Linked DNA regions of Homo sapiens: all the other regions are linked to region 2. Evidence: promoter capture Hi-C in 16 types of primary human blood cells and fetal thymus (Javierre and others, 2016). All regions are on one chromosome and are shown on one strand. Each heading gives the region's core, a stretch centred on a gene start or on the middle of the fragment in contact. The rest is flanking DNA. Distances are from core to core; before and after follow the strand shown.

Region 1 (2,700 bases), core at 97-2,596, 400 kb after region 2:
TTTGTTGTTGGTTTTTTTCTTTCATACTTACAAGATTTTGGTTGAGGAAGTTGAATTGTTGATAGGTGGGGTCACCTCATGAGTTAATTATTTGAGATTGTTTAAATACATTTTTATATCTGTCTCTGAAATAACAAAAGTGAAGCTTTGTGGTAAGAAACTATTCAGTTTTTTTATTTGATATGCACTTTCATGTGTCTTGGTGCATAGTGCTGATGGGAAAAGAATGAAATATATGATGAAATACTGTGCTTGAAGAGCAGCAAGCATTGAACCCAGTCATAGCTCGTGAACTTGTGAATGGACCTGTTTCTTTTTAAGTATGTGAAAATTTCTGGGAAATATTCTGATGAATTTTACATAGGTCATCTCTTACTATTGAACTTAAAATATTTCCCTTTTTCTCCCAAGAAGAACATTTTCAGTTTTACTTCTTTTGTCCTGTGCTGCCTTCAGTGAATGAAGAAAATTACTGCTTTATTCATTTGATATTATGGCATTGAAGTATACCATTATTGTGAATTTGATTTCTCTAGTATAGGCTTAGCAATTTGAAGATATTACTGGGAGATTGGCTTATATTAGGAAATAGTCTCCTTTATAAAAAAATTCAAAAACGCAATTTCAGCTTAATTCATCTCTAAGCAGTTATTATGTATGATATGTGTACTTCTCTATTTAGAAGGGCTTTACTATGAATTTTTGTAAATACCCTTTTCAATACACTTAAAAATTCTTCACCTTGGCCAGGCACAGTGTAATCCCAGCACTTTGGGAGGCCGAGGCAGGTGGATCATGAGGTCAGGAATTCGAGACCAGCCTGACCAACATGGTGAAACCCTGTCTCTACTAAAAGTACAAAAATTAGCTGGGTGTGGTGGTGCACACCTGTAATCCCAGCTACTCAGGAGGCTGAGGCAGGAGAATCACTTGAATCTGGGAGGCAGAGGTTGCAGTGAGCCGAGATCGCACCATTGCCCTCCAGCGTGGGTGACAGAGCAAGACTCTGTCTTAAAAAAAAAAAAAAAAAAAATTCTTCACCTATAAACAGTGCAATTATTCATGAATTTTTATTATATAAAGATATATATTTAATGTCATATACTTGATAGGGCTTTTTAACTAATAAGGATGATAGTGCAATTAGCTTATTGATTTGTAAATACCTGCCTCTGGTGTCTTCTATCATACCTAAACCTTTGTTTTGATTCATGAATATATTAGGCAGTTTTGTTTGTATTTTGTAACTATTTGAGAAGAAATAGTTTAAGCAAAAGTAATCTTCAGTCTTGCCATTGTCCCAAGTCATAAAAAATTCTGAAATAATTGTATTTTGCATTAAAAATGTCTTTATTTAAACTCGGCATGGTGGCCTGAGTTGTAGTCCCAGCTACTCTCAAGACTGAGGTGGAAGGATCACTTGAGCCCAGGAGTTTGAATCTAGTCTGGCCTAGACAATATAACAAGACCTTGTCTCTTTATTTATTTTTTATCTTTATTTTTAAAAGTCTTGATTTAATAAGACTTCAATGATCAGTTCAACTTGAATTTTTACCATTTAAAATGTTAAGACGTAGTAAAAGAGAAAAATAGAAAAAGTCACTTGACATAAAAGTATAACTTACGAGGAATTGTATATACAAATTAGTGGTCAAGATAACAGATTGATCATATTATTTTCCAAATAGGTTTATTTGGAGATATGTGAATTTTATTGTTTCTGAAGTAATTTTATAGTTACTGTCTAGTACTTAATTCTTCTCAAAACATTGATTAAATAATTTCTAGGTTAAGTTGGAAACATGTGATAACATTAAAAAATTTAAAATGTCTTTGGGCCTGAAAGATTATGCCTTTACATTCAACATGAAATCCATGGATGGAGTTTATATAAATAACCATGTAGGCTTACCAATCCTTAACCCTCTTGTATTAGTCCATACTCACATGGATATTTCCATATCCACTTTTACTCTTGTGTCAAAAGACAAAATTAAAACTCATTTAGTTATGTATCTAATTGGCTTTTATTCTCGATTCATGAATCGGTGCAGCCTCCATTCTAATAGAATCACAGCTTCTACTGGGCAATGGCAGACTATTGGGTTTTGTGAGGTGGGAATGAGGAAACATAACAATGGGGAAAATAAGCTGATTAGTTAACAATAGATTACTTCAGTTTACTTTTTTTTTATAAGGGTTAAAGCAGAGGGGACTTTCTTGTTCTGACTCAGGTAGGCTAGAATCTCCTGTTTTTAGGAAAAACTCGTCTGTTTTGGGATCTATCTGCTTTCTTACAGTTGCAGTTTGATTATATGACATTTGGCATGAGTGACTCCACTTTGTTAACACTTGAAAGGTTATTATTCCCATATGGAGTATTCACATGGATGTAGCCATTGTCAGTTATACAAGATCGTGTTTCTTTTCTTTGCCCCCCTGCCCCCGTCACCTAAGAACTTGTTAGATATTCCATTTCTTTTTTTAAAAAAAGATACAGTGAGTAAAGGTGATAGAGAGCATATGGATAAATAGTGAAGAAGCTTGATGAGGGGAGTGGTTAGGTTAGAAACACAAGGGAATTTACTCAGGTTAAAACACTGTCATTTTATATTCAAGCCAATATATATTTGTTTTGTTAGCGTTGACGTAATTTTTTTCTGGGAAGGCTTTCCTGACCTCTGGTTTGAGTAAGCAGCT
Region 2 (2,772 bases), core at 218-2,717:
ACTATGCCCAGCCTTTTTTTTTTTTTAAACTATTTGTAGAAACAGGGTCTCCCTATGTTGCCCAAGCTGGATCTGCCTTCCTTTTATAAGGATACCTGTCATTGGATTTGAGGTCCACCCAGGTAGTCTAGGATGATTCAATCTTGAGATCCTAAAATTAATTTACACCTGCAAAGATCCTTTCTCCATTAAGGTCACATTCACAGGTGCTGCAGCACATTAGACTGTGGACATATCTTTTCTTTTTTTGGTGGAGGTGTGACTGGGGAGACACTATTAAACCCACTACAGTGTAAAAGTAGGCCAGATGTGATGGTTCACACCTGTAATCCCAAGACTTTGGGAGGCCGAGGTGGGCGGATCACTTGAGGTCAGGAGTTCGAGACCAGCCTGGCCAACATGGCGAAACCTCGTCTCTACTAAAAATACAAAAATTAGCTGGGCGTGGTGGCGCACCTGTAATCCCAGCTAGTCGGAAGGCTGAGGCAGGAGAATCACTTGAACCCAGGAGGCAGAGGTTGCAGCGAGCCGAGAGCGCGCCACTGCATTCCAGCCTGGGCGACAGAGGAAGACTCTATCTAAATATATATATATACATATACATACATATATATATATATATATATATATATATATATATATATATATATATATATATAGCCAAACTTAGCTTTATTTCAGAGCCGTTGCTGGGCCTGGGAGTGGAGAGAGATCAGGAGAGCGCCACCAGCTTGGATCGGTTAGTGAGCTGCGGTGGTTTTTGTTTTTGTTTTTTTTTTCTTGACAGTGTCTCCTATTGTTTTGTATTTCTCTTTTGTTTTGAGGTTTTCTGCCATCTTTTCTGGAAGGTGCATGATGCTCAGCTCTGTGGTTATTTTTGCCCAACAGCTGTGTTTCCGGTGAGCGGCTGTGGGATTCTTCTGACTCAGCAAAACTGGAGCAGTAACCGTCAAGAAGCCATTCAAGCAAGGCTAGAAATAAAGAAGCTGTTTCTTCACCGTCCCCTCCTCCTCCTCTCACTTCCCTCCCCATGGGTACCTTTTGAAAGTCTCACAAAGCACTTTGAAAAAACTACTTGGACCAGTATGCTGGAGGGTTGACTGAAGGTGGCCCCTCCGCTGGGCTTTAAGCAAACAGATAAATTCTGGAAAGGACTCTGCCCTGCCAGCCTGGCTGTGGCCTTCGGAAGGCCCCTCCCAACATGCCCCCACCCGCCGATCACATGGACTGTGTCTTACAAGTTTCCCACAGGTCTGACTAGTGAAAGCAGAGGCTGTGGGGACTTTTGTGGTTTTTCTAGGGTGTGGCCCCACTTTGCCTTCACCAGGCCTGAGTATCTATGCCGTGCAGCTTGCCTGCTTCTCAAAGGTCATGATTTCCACCCTGGGGCTGGGAGGCAGCTACATATTCCTACCCGCTGGCACAGGATCTGGCCCTGCACTCCCGAGAGGTGGCTGCGAGCCTTGCGGAGGCAGAGAGAGAACAAAATGGAAAGGAATCTTCCTCCCGGAGAGCCATCTTCTGTGCATGCCGGTGCCTGCAAAAGACAGGCGAGGCGAGACAGCTGCACCTCGGGCCTCGTCGCTGTTGCTGAGAAAGAAAGGAACAAATAAATTTAGCTCCATCCTACGCATCCTTTGCAGCTGCTGATTGACCAAACAGAAAGAGGCCTCTATTTCAACCCTGGCTTCTCAGCTTTTTGCCTGATGGGGTCTGCTATCGCCCTTTACAAGGGACTTTTGAAGGAGGAAACGGGCCGTGGCCTTATTTAGCGCCTGGCCGGCTGGAGGCTGCACAGACAGGAGTTCAAGTTTAGGGTGTCTCTTCTTGCCCATCCCAAAGCAAAATGGTGGCCCGGAAACGTTTCCAAATGGGCTTCGGCTCCTGGAATTTCCAATGTATTTATTTGGAAGCCAGAACATGGTGGGTGGAGAGATGTGTAACTGTGCCGAGGCCAGCCTATAGCTCCCGAAGCCATTAGTTTAATAGCACCATTTGTGGAAATAAAGAACTCGCTGACTGGGCTTGAAGGTAAAAGACTGGAACGAAGCACTGAGGGGGTTTCGTGGGGCTCACTAGCGTGGAGAGGTCCCTGCGGGATGGGGGACAAGCTGTGTGGACTTTGAGTCAGATAGACTTGGGTTCCAGTCCTAGCTCTATCACCTAAAGGCACGTTGTCTCTGGACAAAGAGAGCCTTTGCTCTGTGATATGTAAGTGAAATGCTAGCTGTGACACTGAACCTCTCTGAGCCTCAGTTCCTTATCTGTAAAACAGCAATGATGACACGAGGTCGTCACAAGGATTAAATGACAAAGAATACTGAACCTACATAGCCCAGCTCTTGCTGTGCCATGATGGTGTAGAGTGGCCCCTGTTTGACCTGCCCAGGCCCATTCTCCAAAGAAGCTGTACAGGTGAGGTGGCTCACCCCTGTAATCCCAGTACTTTGGGAGGCCGAGAAGGGAGGATCACTTGAGCCCAGGAGTTTGAGGCCAGCCTGGGCAACATAGAGAGACCCCATCTCTGCAAAAAAATAAAAAAAATTAGCTGGGTGTGGCGGTGCACGCCTGTGGTCCCAGCTACACAGGAGGCTAAGGTGGGAGGATCCCTTGAGCCCAAGAGGTCCAGGCTGCAGCCTGGGTGACAGAGCAAGACCCTGTCTCTAAAAAAAAAAAAAAAAAAAAAAAATAGAAGGTGTTTCTTCCCCAATCCTCTCCTTTCATTTCCCTCCCCGTGAGTACTATTTGGAAGTCTCACACGGCACTTTTTAA
Region 3 (2,780 bases), core at 209-2,708, 410 kb after region 2:
GTAGAGATGGGGGTTTCCTCACGTTGGCCAGGCTGGTCTCGAATTCCTGGCCTCAAGCAGTCCCCCCTGCCTTCGTCTCCCAAAGTGCTGGGATTACAAGCGTGAGTCACCATGGTTGGCTATTTAGGGAATTTAATCAAGATTTAAAGCAGGGTGTCCAATCTTTCGGTTTCCCTAGGCCATGCTGAAAGAAGAATTGTCTTGGGCCACATATAACATACACGAACACTAAGGATAACTGATGAGCTTTAAAAAAAAAAAAGGAAAAAACAAAAAACAAACTCAGCTGGGTGCGGTGGCTCACGCCTGTAATCCCAGCACTTTGGGAGGCTGAGGCTGGCAGATCACAAGGTCAGGAGATCGAGACCATCTTGGCCAACATGGTGAAAGCCCATCTCTACTAAAACATAAAAATTAGCTGGGCATGGTGGCACACACCTGTAGTCCCAGCTACTTGGGAGGCTGAGGCAGGAGAATCGCTTGAACCCAGGAGGTGGAGGTTGCAGTGAACCGAGATTGCGCCACTGCATTCCAGCCTGGTGACAGAGCGAGACTCCATCTCAAAAAAACCAACAAAAACAAAAAAATCTCAAAATAGCTCATAATGTTTTAAGAAAGTTTACAAATTTGTGTTGGGCTGCAGTCAAAGCCGTTCTGGGCCTCATGCGGCCCGCGGGCTGTGGGTTCAACAAGCTTGATTTAAAGTCTGTTTGCTAGTGAATTTTAAAAACTTTTTGGGGTCACAAATAGAAAAGAATTTGGTTTATTTGGTTTATTTATTGCAGAGAACCTGGAACATACGATTAAAGCATGCCTCTATGTGTGGGGATTTTTTTTTAAACTTCATGAGGCTTAGACTAAAAATGTGCTTGAGGCCAGGCACAGTGGCTGTCACCTAGATTTAGTTCCAGCGCTTGGGGAGACCAAGGCAGGAGAATTGCTTGAGGCCAGGAGTTCAAGACCAGCCAAGGCTACTTAGCAAGACTCTACAAAAATTTAAAATAAATAAATAAATAAATAAATAAATAAATAAATAAATAAATAGAGTTGAGTGTGGTGCATGTGCCTGTAGTCCTAGCTCCTTGGAGGCTGAGGTGGGAGGATCACTTGCACCCAGGAGTTTGAGGCTGTAGTGAGCTATGATCGCACCACTGCACTCCAGCCTGAATGACAGAGTGAGACCTTGTCTCAAAGAGAAAAGAAAAAAAAGCGCTTGAAGCAACTGCTGAGGAACTGTATGCCATTTATTTTAACAACTGTATAGAAGCAGGAAAGCCTAGAATTTTAGTACTGGAAGGTACTTTTTAGATGAGCTAGGCCAAGCATCCGCCTCCCCTGGGCTCGGTTCCAGAATACCTGTTCTAGGTTGCTTTTCAGCCTGTGATGAGGAAATCTTTGTATGCACACCATGGAGTCCTTTTCTTAAGGATATGTAGTGATGTGCATAGAGATTGAGTATCAGGATTCCTTGTTAAGGATTTCCATCTGCCATTTAGGATTATTATTGGTTTGGTTGACATTGGCATTGCCTTATCAAACAATAGATGGTAGGTGGAAGTTTCGCTACCCTGTTTGGTATGAGGCAGATATTAATTTGTTGTTCTGAAGAAGGTGATGTTGGATAAGCCAGTTTTATTTAAATGGCCATATGAAGAAAATAGGATCATAATGTGAAGTCAGTGTACTGACAACAGAGTATGTGCGTATTTTGTGAGATGCACAGATACACGTAATTACCTTATAAGTGGTATGGGATGAATTAAGTGGAGCAACCATGGGACAGAAACAGTACAAGTGATGCAGTGAAGTGCAACTTGAAGCGGTGTTGTAGCATAAATTTTGATTATTAGATAGCAGATAAGTTAAATTCCTTAGATACGGTAATGTACAGCAGCCAGAGAGAGGTTATTTCATGTTGCTAATTGCATATCAGATTCAGTGCCCAGATGACTTACCTTTTGGGAAAACAAAACCCACTCACTTTTATGGAACATATTCTCTGCCAGAGACACTATTTTAAGCACCTTTACGTGTTATCTCAGTTAATCTTTAAAAATGTTTGCATAAAGTAGTTGGAGTTTCAGAAAATGTACTCTGAATTCATAGTAAAAACTACAGTAGGTCAGCTATTAGTTGTATTAGCCACATTGATTAACCACAAACATGCAGAACTTATATTGAGCATGCTTTGAGCCAAGATTTTATGTTTTGGGGTAAGCTTTTTCTTTAGGGAATTTTTTTGTGAGGAAATAGATTTGGGACAAAGATTCTCAGACCAAACTCAGTTTTGGAATCACCCAGAATTTCAGAAATGGGATCTCAGTTCACTATCAGGGTCGAACTGTTGGGAGCTGGGCCCTTTGGGACAGTGAAGGACAAGAGATGGGGGAAATTTGAGGAGTAGTTGGGCACCACCCTTACTTCTCATCCAAAATTAGGATGTGGACTTTATCGGTGATGGCTGAGTTTCATTTAGTAATGAGGAAAGGTTTTTGTGAAACATTCTTTTAAATGGAATCACATGAGTTAATGGTGTGAGTATTTCAGGGCTGTGAGTTAAGCTGTTGGGGCAGTGAAATAGCAGGAATTTCTCAGCTCAGTCAGAATCCTTTCTTGTGTGCTGTGTATGGAACACAGGGGCAAAGGAAAGGCCAAGCAAAGAGAAACTGCCTGTGTGCCTGTTCTGTGGCTCTGGGTAATCACCTGGCTTCTATTAAGTTCTGTAGTATTGGTGAAATAATTGGGGATTTAAAGGAGGTGAACCAGTGTGTGGTCTCTTT
Region 4 (2,700 bases), core at 61-2,560, 470 kb after region 2:
GTCGTGACAACCCAAAATGTCTCCAGATAGTGCCAGATTTTCCTTGGGAGGGCAAGTCACCCCTGGTTGAAAACCACTGTTTTAGCCTTCCGAGGGCTGTTGAGAGCCTGCACCATGCACATAGTGTAGGAATTGGCCAGAGATTTGGGCAGAGTTTGTGTCTTTGATTCTCTTCTTTCCAGAATTTCTATTCTCATTTTCAGCAGCTGTGGTCTCTTTAACTCAGTCCTCTGGTTCTTTGCCACTAAGAACCAAGGTCGGGTTTCTGTTAGTTTTAGCTGTTGTGGTTCAGTCTGCCCTATGCTACAAACTGTTTAAAAAGGGGGGTGGAGGGGTAGGTGGACAACTGTGATGAGAATGAGGATGATTGATTCAGTGCCATTTCCTCCTTCTGGTGGTAAACTCTTTCCCCTCCCCCAGGATCTTCCTGCATTTGGTAACTCAGGTTTTTGCAGATTTTAATATCTTCTTCATAATTTATAGTTGTTATTTAAAGGGAGTGTCATGTTGGAGTGGAAGGAACTACTTTGTACTACTGGATGGGGAACCTGATACGTATTTTAGGATGTAAAACTTGACGTTGCATACCATCCTTTGTCAAGGAGGGTACCATCTTTTAAAAAATGTATAGACATAAAAGATCTTTATTATATATTTGGAGTTAACATTTATATAAAACCTTTTCCTGATGCACTTTTAGTGCTCTATACAAATGTTTCTTAACAGCCCTTATGAACTTTTTTTTGCAGAATGAGGTAGGATGATGAGAAATGAGACAGACCAGTAAGAGGAAGGAAGGTCTGGGAGGTGACCAAACAAGGCTGAAAGGCAGATGATAGGATTGTAAGGGGAATGGAGGCGATTGAGGGATGGCTGCCTGTTTGATTCGTAGTGTGCTGTTAGTAAATGGGGTCCTTTCTTTGAAAAGTGTGATCACACTTGGTAAAATTTTCTGACTGTGGCATCTGTGTAGCAACTTGGCAGCAGGGGGAAAGCATTGTAGATTAGAGTTAGATTTCAGAACATTTCTCTTTCGACAAGAATATTCATTTCTGGAAAGATGGTTAAGAATACAGTTTCATATTTTTGCTTTTGGTTGACTTTACACTTTTTTTTCTAACATTTTTTTCCTCATTAGTTTAAGGAAACAATTTAAAATGTTAAGAAAAAGATTACATAAATTCTATTAAGCTTGAAATTACTCACTTAAGCTTGCCTTTTTTGTGATGAATTTTATGGTATTGAATAAGATAGCATAAATAAAGTAGCTAATACAGAACCTAACATCTGGTTATTGTGTAATGGTAGCTGTTTGCTATTAGTAGTGAAACTGGTGGTAGTAATATTTAGAAAAAAATAAGGAGAATTTTTTATGATGTTGGTAATTTCTTGTACTAGAGAAAGCTTGCCAATCAAATATTTGTGAATCAGTTTTTATATACACAATTTGCATTAAATAAGGTAGGTGTTTCTACTATAAATCTTTCTACATAATGGCAATATAAGAAATGTCATATCGTATACTGATTTTACCCCTAAAATAATGACATCAGCTGTTTTCTAATTTTAAAGAAGTAGTCTTACCAAATGTTTGAAATCACCATGATTTTGGTATGAATTTGAAAATATGGTGTTTACTAGCATTGTGGTTCTGTTGCTATCCTTTTATGGAGTCAAAGGAAAAAATTTTGAAAATGCATAATGTATATTATAACAATATGACTATTTGTTGTGGAGTGTTAAATGATGTTATAAAAATAAAGCTTTTAAGTATGGTTCGTAGAAATTATTAGATCTGTCTCTGAGAACCTGTTAAGTGTGGCTTGCATGCTTCATTTAGGATTTTATTAACAGTTGTATAAGATTGAAGTATAATAGCTTGATATTTATGGTTAAAGAATATCATGGGGCGGGCACAGTAGCTCACGCCTGTAATCCTAGCACTTTGGGAGGCCGAGACAGGCAGATCACTTGAGGTCGGGAGTTTGAGACCAGCCTGACCAACATGGAGAAACTCCGTCTCTACTAAAAATACAAAATTAGCTGGGCGTGGTGGTGCAAGTCTGTAATCCCAGCTAGTCAGGAGCTGAGGCAGGAGAATCGCTTGAACCCGGGAGGCGGAGGTTGCAGTGAGCTGAGATCCCACTGTTGCATTCAAGCCTGGGCAACAAGAATGAGACTCTTGTCTCAAAAAAAAAAAAAAAAGAATTATCGTGGAAAACTGCTAAATTAAAATACTACATTTTACGGAAACTGTGGAGCTGCCTCCTTGATAGAATGTTAGGTCTGTTTTTGTTGTCTTCTGCCTATGTCTCTTGACTTGTAGTTTCTTTTGTTTCAAATCACTCTGCCCTCGTATATACTTTGGTTAGACTACTTTTGGTGAAGCACTCTCCAATAGAAGAACATAATGTGGTGTCAATTGTGTAGGGATCGCCCAAGCGTTGTCTAGCATTTCTGCTCCCCAGCAGAAGCCATTTTATCCAGCCAGAGTTGTCCTTCACAGTTCTAGCATAGTCTAAACTCATTTTCTCATTGTTCATATTCTTTCTCTCCCACCCACTCTGTCTTCCCTGGCAATTCAAGTTAAATTCCATCTCTCTTCTTTGAGTTGCTCCCCTGAAGTAAGATTTCTGTTTCTTCTGGCATTTTACCTCTAAATTTATCAATAACATGTTTATTCTGCTGTTCTTAATGTCG
Region 5 (2,700 bases), core at 154-2,653, 370 kb after region 2:
GCAAGAAACCCCTGTGGGAGGAAGAAAAGATAGGCTACAGAATGGGAAAAAATATTTGCAGACCGCATGTCTGACAGAGAGCTAGTACTTGTATATATAGAGATTTCTCAACGCAAAGTATTAAAAAAAAATCCAACTAGTCCAATTAGAAGATGGGCAAAAGATACGAAGAGATATGTACACATGGCAAGTAAGCATATAAAAAGATGTTCAGCATCATTAGTTTTTACCAAAATTGCCATTTAAAACTACAGTGAACTATCATTACACACCTGACAGAATGACTAAAATGAAAAATTAGTGACAACACCAAATGCTGGAGAGGATGTTGCTGGAGGGTGTATAAAAACTGTTTGGAGTTTCTTAAAAAACAAAACATGCCAACTATCATTTAGCAGTTGTATTCCTGGATATTTATCCCAGAGAAGTGAAAACGTATGTTTGTGCAGAAACCTATACGTAATGTTTATAGCAGCTTTATTTGTAAAAGCCTAAACTGGAAACAGCCCAGGTCTCCTTCAGCAGATGAAAGGTTAAACTGTATATCCATACAATATAATACTACTGGGTAACAAAAGGAACAAAGTCTTGATATACAGTAACCTGGATAAATCTCCAGAAAATGATGCTGAGTGGAAAGTAAAATCTCAAAGGTTATATAGTGTATGATTCCATTTATGTAACGTTCTTGAAATGACAAAGATACAGCAAAATTAGTAGTTGTCGGGGTTTAGGAGGGGTGGAAGTGGGAGGAAAGTTGGTGAAACTATAAAAGGGGAACATGAGGCATCCTTGTGATGGAAATAGTCTGTATCTTGACCATATCAGTGTCAATATGCTGGTTGTGATGTTGTACTACGGTTTTGGAAGAGTTAGCATTGGGAAAACTGGGTTAAGGGTACACTGAATCTTTTGGTATTATTTCTGACAGTTGCATGTGAATCTCTGACTATCTCACACAAACTAAAACTTAATTGAAAATTAATGTAAGTGAATTACTTTTCCCCTTACTAGCTAGGGACTCATTTGCCGTTTTACCTAGCTTGTTGGCATTTGTATATATTGCTGGGTATATAAAATTTGAACTGAGATCACTCTGTTTCTGTGACTGTTTTCATTCTTTGTAAGTTGTTGAAAATTGAGGATCTTCAATGTATCCTTTAATTTTGGTGTAGATTTCTTTCCCTGTACTTTTTTACATGAATACTTATGCTCAAACTATTCAAAAACATGGTTTTAGAAATGTAAAATTGGTTTTGTTAGCCATAATATAGTTAACTTATTCCTTTATGTTTATAATTTCTTTTCAGGATTAATAATAGCAGCTGTGACATGACAGTGATTTTTTTTTTTAATAATTTGTTAATTATGTTATGTAAAATGTAATACTGGTGAGGAGCCAGTAATGTTGCACAGATTATCGTAGTCCTGAAAAACCACAAATAAATCCAATGAATGAGTGAGAAAAGTGACACTGTTGTTGGCACTCTGAAATTCTGCAGGGACTTACATTGTGGCTAAAATCAACCCTACCTTCTTGCTGTGTTCAAGAGGCTTTTCACTGATTTCTGTTGACAGGAAAAGCCTTTTTTTTTTTTTTTAACTTATAAAAGAAAAAGAAAAAAAGCAGTACCCTCCAGGCCCTGTGTATTATTAAGATCTTTTAGTAGCGAGTTGCTCTTTCTCTGGGAAATCGGCTGTTAAAGTCAGAGGGAGCTCTTAATAGTTTGCATGGTATTTGATTAAATGGAACAGTTGGATCAGTACAGATTCCAGATTTAATAGAGCAGATACTCACTTCTATACATCCCCTATGATTAGCATAGTTATATCTTCTATATTATAGAAATATAATTTTAGGATATACTCTTGTACATTATAAAATAAGCATGTTAGAGAAAACCTGATAAATTGAACTTTTGCAGAGAAAGACTTAAAAGCATATGACTAAAATATAACTTCTACATAAAACAATATGTGTCCAGCATTGTGGGATAGTTTATAGTTCTGAGGTGATCTATTAAACCATGATACTGGAAGAAATGACAATGATAGACACTGACATAGGAGCATTATTTGTGTGTCAGGCTTTGTTTAAAGCACTTTTTATGTATGAACTCATTTTATCATTACTGTGAGGTAGGGACTATACTATGATTTCCTGCTGATTGACAGGAAACTGAAGCATGGAGAGGTCAAGTAGTCTCTCAAACCAAAGAACACGTAAGTGAGAGAGGAGGGGCTCTGGCTCCATAGTCCTTGGTCTTAACCACTATTTTGTATTGACTTCCATAGAGAAAATAGCCCACATTATAGCTATGATAAAATGCAAAATTTCACTTTATAGGTAATAGCCTGGAATCGGTGAGCTGGAGTCATTAAGGCAGTTCGGCAAAAACAAAAAACATGGGGGCAAGTGTGGGTAGGAAAGTGCTAGCTGCCTGAGTACAAAGCATTGGGTATTAATAAACATGCTGTGTGCGGCATAGCAGGAAGCAGCTGTTTGGAGTTGAAGGTTTGTTTGGGAGAGCAGTAGAAAAGATGGGTTTGATTAGTTATAGAAAGAATTTTGAATGGAAAAGTGTGGACTTGGGAACACATTTTCTAGGTTGCTGTTGAGAGGAACAACAGTGGTACATTAAATATGGACTTTTAGAACTAGAGGAAATTATAAAAGTTATTATTGGATCTGTGCTCTTC
Region 6 (2,700 bases), core at 115-2,614, 450 kb after region 2:
GTATCATCTTTCAGTAGGAAGATACCCAAGGTACATGGCCAAGCTTGATATCAGTGGGACAGGAAGGGATAGCATTTATTTATATAGTATACACATTGGGATAGTATACCTTTGGGAAAAGAATATGTCTGCCATACCTATTAATTGAGTTATCTTCCCGTTCTGTTACTGTAATCTGTCTTCCAGACAGCTGGCCAGTTATGTTACTGAAACAGATATGTTTCTGAAACATACCTATGGCTATATTTATACCTGGTTTTTAAAACTTTGAGTCTTATTGGCTTCTTCTGGTACATTTTTTATTTGTAATTTGTCAGAATTTCAGTATCTGAGAGTATACATTCTGAATTTTATAGTTTTAGATCATGCAATTACACTTATTTTTCCTTGCTTTTGAAAAAGTAAATGTGCTTCCTATTTTCTTAATGATCAGTTATCTTTTTTTGTTGGAAAAATGCACAGAATGATAAAATGCGCAGAATGATAAAATGTAGTTTTTACTTATGTAGAGTCTCTGCTAGTCCCCTCTACTTCTTTCCATCCTTCCTCCCTTTCTAATAATGCACCAGTTGAGATTGTTCTTTATCAGTCCTCAATTTAGGGAAATTTTGTTAGGTATTTATGATTAACTTCTCAAAGGTTACACTTTGTGTTTTAAGTTCAGATTGCCTCACACTCCTTAGGGAAAAGTACTTTGGCTATCAATAGACGATGGGAAAAAAAATCTGCAATCATTTTTCAAGAGTTTCTTCATTTGGCATTTTTAGTATTGCAGACCTAATGGCTGTTACTTTGTTAGGATAGTTAGTATAAGTTTTCATAATATACCATATCCTTTTCACCTAACTCTATCAAAATAAAGTAAAATATTGGATGTAAAAGTTTTAAAAAGCCGGAAAATATGTGCAGTTCAAAAACTTAAAAGAGTTTTTCTTATTGCTTCAGTGATTTGTACCACATATGGGACTTAGGAAAATCTCGCTTTTCTAGCTGTGTAGAAATACTTGAAAGGTCTGACACAGTGCTGTCAAATTGGCATTATGTGCAGTAGTATACTTTAAATTTTCTTAACTTTTTAGAATAAAATATATGTTAATTTCAATAGAAAGCTCATTTTTTTCTCTGAAATGCAGATGATTGCTTTGCATACAAGAGAAGATTACTTGGGTCTTTTGAAGTTGTTTTATGCTTAATCATGTCCATACTTACTTAGGGAGACTTTAATCTGTGGGTATCTGACATTTGTAAAACATAATGGCTCTTCAGAGCAGTCAGCTGGTGCTGCTGTACTAATGGATTGTTAGCATATTTACCCCATGGTAGTTTATAACACAGCTGTAAAATTGCCTTTGGCCCAGAGCTGCTCTGTTTGCCAAGATTCAGTGTTTAGAGTTAAGATATTTTACTTGGAATATACAGTGAAAATAATGTGGGGAAAATTGAAATTATAATTATGATAACAATAGCATTATATTTGTCTATTCCTATCTTTCAATGTGTTGTGATATTGTAATAGAGGTGATGCAATAGAGGTGATTATCAAAGGGCAAATGAGGCCGGACACATGGCTCACACCTGTAGTCCCAGCACTTTGGGAGGCCGAGACAGGTGGATCACCTGAGGTCAGGAGTTTGAGACCACCCTGACCAACATGATGAAACTCTGACTCTACTAAAAATGCAAAATTAGACAGGTGTGGTTGCACATGCCTGTAATCCCAGCTACTTGGGAGACTGAGGCAGGAGAATCACTTGAACCTGGGAGGCGGAGGTTGCAGTGAGCCAAGACCGTGCCATTGCACTCCAGTCTGGGCGACAAGAGTGAAACTCCGTCTCAAAAAAAAAAAAAAAAAAAAAAAAAAAAGAGCAATGTCCTTGGATGTGGTGGTGAAGGGATTTCAGAATAACATACTCACTGGAGCATGGTGGGATGTACCGCCCTAGTTGAAGAAATCGTGATGTAACATTGACAGTCGTTGGGTATAATGTGATAACAGGAGCAAGAAATGAGTAATCAATAAATACCAATTTTATTGAAATAACAGTGTTTATTTCTCTAAAGAAAGTAGGAGAATGAGTCTTTAGACTTAAGGAGCATATACTTTAATGAAAGAGACAGTACAGATATCGTAGAACAAGTGACTGAAAGCACATGTCTATTTGTAAATGTCTAGAAAGAAACATTCACCCTGAGACTAATCAGTCTGTGTAGCTATTTAGTGAATATTTTTCAGTCAAGGGAAGGAATTAAGACTTTAAATTTAAAAAACAAAATTGATCTGGGAGCAGCGGCTTGTGCCTCTAAGCCCAGCTACTCAGGAGGCTGAGTCAGGAGGATTGCTTGAGGCCAGGAGTTTGAGACCAGGCTGGGCAACAAAGCGAGACCCCCATCTCTAAATAAAAATAAAAGTAAATTAAAACTAAAGAAATAAAAAATAAAGATTAGCTGATTGTGGTGACATGTGCACTTGTAGTCCCAGCTATTTGTGGGGCCAAGGCAGGAGGATGGCTTCAGCCCAGGAGTTTGAGGCTGTAGTGAGCTCTGATCTGCCACAGCACTCCAGCCTGGGCAACAGAGTGAGACTCTGTCTCTAAACATAAATAAATAAGTACATAATTTTATTTGGTAGTTGGAGAATGAGATTAGACATTAAAAGTTTAAAACTAGAGGAGAGATAAAGCTTTTGGAATTACATTAGAA
Region 7 (2,700 bases), core at 72-2,571, 430 kb after region 2:
GTCAGAGATGCTTATTTTTCTTGAATGAGGTTTTAGGGTATCAGCTTTTCTTTCCCCTCCTAGCGGGTGGCTGTGGGGAATTCTTGGTCAGATTGTCATAGAAAATGAGCAGTGGAAAATTGAAGCTGCACAATCTGGAGAGTTTTATTTTTAAAATAGTCATTCTTAACCTGAACTAAAGTAAAGCAAGTATAAAACATTTTTATGTTATTCCAGTGTGGCCAAGATTTTTTTTCTTAAATTTATACAAGTATGATCACTTTCAAAGGAGAGTATGATTTTCATAGTTAATCAAAAATGTTTAGGCAGTTTTTTGTGAGTTTAAGAAACCTGTTGGTTTCCTGGAAAGTCATGAATGTTTATGATATCAAGGGTCTGTTATAGAGCCTCTGAGATCTTTTAGACAAAAGCATTGATGCTGTTCTTAATGGCACTTTGAAGTTTTGGTGACTACTCTTGAGGTAAATGGATATGTGCTGATCATTTCATTCTTTCTTTCTTTCTTTCTTTCTTTTTTTTTTTTTTGAGACTGAGTCTCACTCTGTTGCCCAGGCTGGAGTGCCGTGGCACGATCTCGGCTCACTACAACCTCCACCTCCCTGTTTCAAGTGATTCTCCTGCCTCAGCCTCCAGAGTAGCTGAGACTACAGGCACGCGCCACCATGTACAGCTAATTTTTGTATTTTTAGTAGAGATGGGGTTTCACTATGTTGGCCAGGCTGGTCTCGAACTCCTGACCTTGGGTGATCCGCCCACCTTGGCCTCCCAGAGTGCTGGGATTACAGGCGTGAGCCACCGTGCCCGGCCTGTGCTGATCATTTCTATCTTGTGAATAGTCTTATTTATACAGAGCTGCTCCCTTGCCAAGGCGTAATGTCTGGTTTGGGTAGGCAAAAATCCACTCCCAAATTAGTGTCTGTGTGTTATATGTCTTTGATTTAATTTACGTTCACCTCCAAAGGGGCAAAATGGCTAGAGAAAAAATAAACAGGACAGTGTATGACTAATTGAAAGTTAAAAAGGGCCTTGCTTTTTCTAGACTGAAGGATACAAAATGAATACGAATAGTGAATAGTTGTCTAGCTGATTTAAAAGAGCCATTGTATTTCAGTTTCTTCTCTCTTCACCTTCATTTTAATAACTCTCCTGAAAATGGGATTTTTAGTAATCTGTCTCAGAGTATAATATTTGGGTTATCCTCAAATAGATGATAAATATTTTTATCCACCTGCCTCGGCCTCCCAAAGTGCTGGGATTACAGGCATGAGCCACCATGCCCAGCCTTGAGTTATACTTTATTAAAAATAATTCTGTTTTAAAAATTGGTGAGAAACAATCACAAAAATATGGTGTATGAATAAGCCAGAGATACTTGAGAATAATTATATGGAAGCTGATTTTCCAGGAAGAAAATAATATAAAATTACTAAAACGTCCACAAAAATGCTGCTACAGCATTTTTCCACTTTTATTTTTTTTTGCATTATGTTCCCCCTCATTCTTCAAGGGAAAATAAAAGATTCCTCAACCTTTGTAGATGTGGCTTATGATAAATACTGTAGGGACCTTAGCTCATTGTACCTAATAGAATGGAACATGGAACACATATGCCCTATTCTTGTTTACATGCACTTACATCAATATGTAATATGAATTTAATTTAATATCACTCCATAACTGTGTAACTTTATTTTGTTATTTCAGATATAATGAACACGACTGATAGGACATTGTAAATTTATAGTGATTAAGAGCTATCATCTGTAGTAATAGCCTATAGAGTTGATAAGTAGAATGAATTATGCATAGGAAAGAGAATAAAGAGTTAATTCCATTTCTAAATGTTTCTTATTGGGATAGAAGTTTTATAAGTTAAAGTTGCCTGATTTTAAAACATTAAACTCTTAGGAGACCCACTTCATGACAGTAACTACTTTACATTGTGAGTTTATTGTGGTATTTTAATTTATTTTCTTGTTTTTTTTTTTCCTCAAGAATACCCTTCATTAGTCATTCTAATCTTGTTGATTATCAAGGGTTCAAGTAAGAGCCTTCAATTGTCAGTAGGAAGAAAAGCTAAGCCTTTTATAAACGTGTCTGTTTGGCTATTTTGCGTAGTATAAAAATCCTTAGAATCATATTAGGTTGCATTTTGCTCCACTTTGAATGTTTTCCTCAGGGTCACAATGTTTTTCTCTGTGGAAGGTTCTTTGCAGTATAGTAAGCACACAAGGATTGACATTGCCCTTGTACATATCGTGCTGACATTCTTCTTTGTGGGTGAGAAGACAAGTAGTAAATGAATAATTTCTTACAGTTGTCTGCTACAAAGCAATAGATGAGAAAGTGACTGACTGGGACAGGACTACTTTCCATTAGAGGGTCAGGTAGGGAATGCCGCTTGGAGGAGACAGCCAGATACAGGAAAAGGAAGTCAGATGTCTTGAGCTCACTTTGTTGGAAAAAAGAAGGCCAGTGCTGTTGAAATGAGTACACAGAGGGTGTTGGAAGAGGTAGACAGAGGTTTGATCAGGTGGAGCCTTGTAGGCCATGGTAAGGAGCTTATTAAATAGATTATTAATTCCATGAGAAGCCATTAAAATAAGGCTTTAAGAGGCAGGATGCTACGATGTGACTTAAGGTTTGAAAAAGATTACTTTGGCTCTCATGAATAATGGACTTCAGGTGCTTTGAGTGAAA

Evidence for each region. Contacts are between HindIII fragments. The CHiCAGO score rates a contact against its expected background, and 5 or more counts as called.
Region 1: a contact is called between a fragment that was not itself captured here and the fragment with the promoter of MAP1LC3B2 in region 2, in 9 of 17 cell types (total B cells, naive CD4 T cells, monocytes and 6 more). The highest score is 9.3, in total B cells.
Region 3: a fragment that was not itself captured here is called in contact with the fragment with the promoter of MAP1LC3B2 in region 2 in 14 of 17 cell types (naive B cells, megakaryocytes, non-activated CD4 T cells and 11 more); the score reaches 13.7 in naive B cells.
Region 4: a contact is called between a fragment that was not itself captured here and the fragment with the promoter of MAP1LC3B2 in region 2, in 9 of 17 cell types (naive B cells, total B cells, fetal thymus and 6 more). The highest score is 8.9, in naive B cells.
Region 5: a fragment that was not itself captured here is called in contact with the fragment with the promoter of MAP1LC3B2 in region 2 in 3 of 17 cell types (monocytes, total B cells and neutrophils); the score reaches 6.8 in monocytes.
Region 6: a fragment that was not itself captured here is called in contact with the fragment with the promoter of MAP1LC3B2 in region 2 in 6 of 17 cell types (naive CD8 T cells, erythroblasts, M2 macrophages and 3 more); the score reaches 7.2 in naive CD8 T cells.
Region 7: a contact is called between a fragment that was not itself captured here and the fragment with the promoter of MAP1LC3B2 in region 2, in 3 of 17 cell types (neutrophils, M0 macrophages and M2 macrophages). The highest score is 8.0, in neutrophils.

The regions. Positions count from the first base shown.
Region 1 is chr12:116,161,696-116,164,395 of GRCh38, reverse strand. All of the region lies in intron 2 of MED13L (mediator complex subunit 13L), which reads left to right. Among named protein-coding and RNA genes, the nearest start is that of MIR620, 14 kb to the right of the region's middle. The HindIII fragment of the contact is 2,398 bases long and covers 148-2,545 here.
Region 2 is chr12:116,558,076-116,560,847 of GRCh38, reverse strand. MAP1LC3B2 (microtubule associated protein 1 light chain 3 beta 2) reads right to left here and starts at 1,467. Exons shown (of 2, transcript NM_001085481.3): 1 at 1,415-1,467. RefSeq lists enhancers at 874-973, 1,014-1,063, 1,284-1,623, 1,463-1,972. The HindIII fragment of the contact is 18,876 bases long and covers 1-2,772 here.
Region 3 is chr12:116,143,924-116,146,703 of GRCh38, reverse strand. The region is part of intron 2 of MED13L (mediator complex subunit 13L); the gene reads left to right. Among named protein-coding and RNA genes, the nearest start is that of MIR620, 3.3 kb to the left of the region's middle. The HindIII fragment of the contact is 1,525 bases long and covers 696-2,220 here.
Region 4 is chr12:116,085,789-116,088,488 of GRCh38, reverse strand. All of the region lies in intron 4 of MED13L (mediator complex subunit 13L), which reads left to right. Among named protein-coding and RNA genes, the nearest start is that of MIR620, 62 kb to the left of the region's middle. The HindIII fragment of the contact is 193 bases long and covers 1,214-1,406 here.
Region 5 is chr12:116,186,784-116,189,483 of GRCh38, reverse strand. The region is part of intron 2 of MED13L (mediator complex subunit 13L); the gene reads left to right. Among named protein-coding and RNA genes, the nearest start is that of MIR620, 39 kb to the right of the region's middle. The HindIII fragment of the contact is 2,822 bases long and covers 1-2,700 here.
Region 6 is chr12:116,103,163-116,105,862 of GRCh38, reverse strand. The region is part of intron 3 of MED13L (mediator complex subunit 13L); the gene reads left to right. Among named protein-coding and RNA genes, the nearest start is that of MIR620, 44 kb to the left of the region's middle. The HindIII fragment of the contact is 2,637 bases long and covers 46-2,682 here.
Region 7 is chr12:116,127,734-116,130,433 of GRCh38, reverse strand. The region is part of intron 2 of MED13L (mediator complex subunit 13L); the gene reads left to right. Among named protein-coding and RNA genes, the nearest start is that of MIR620, 20 kb to the left of the region's middle. The HindIII fragment of the contact is 2,807 bases long and covers 1-2,700 here.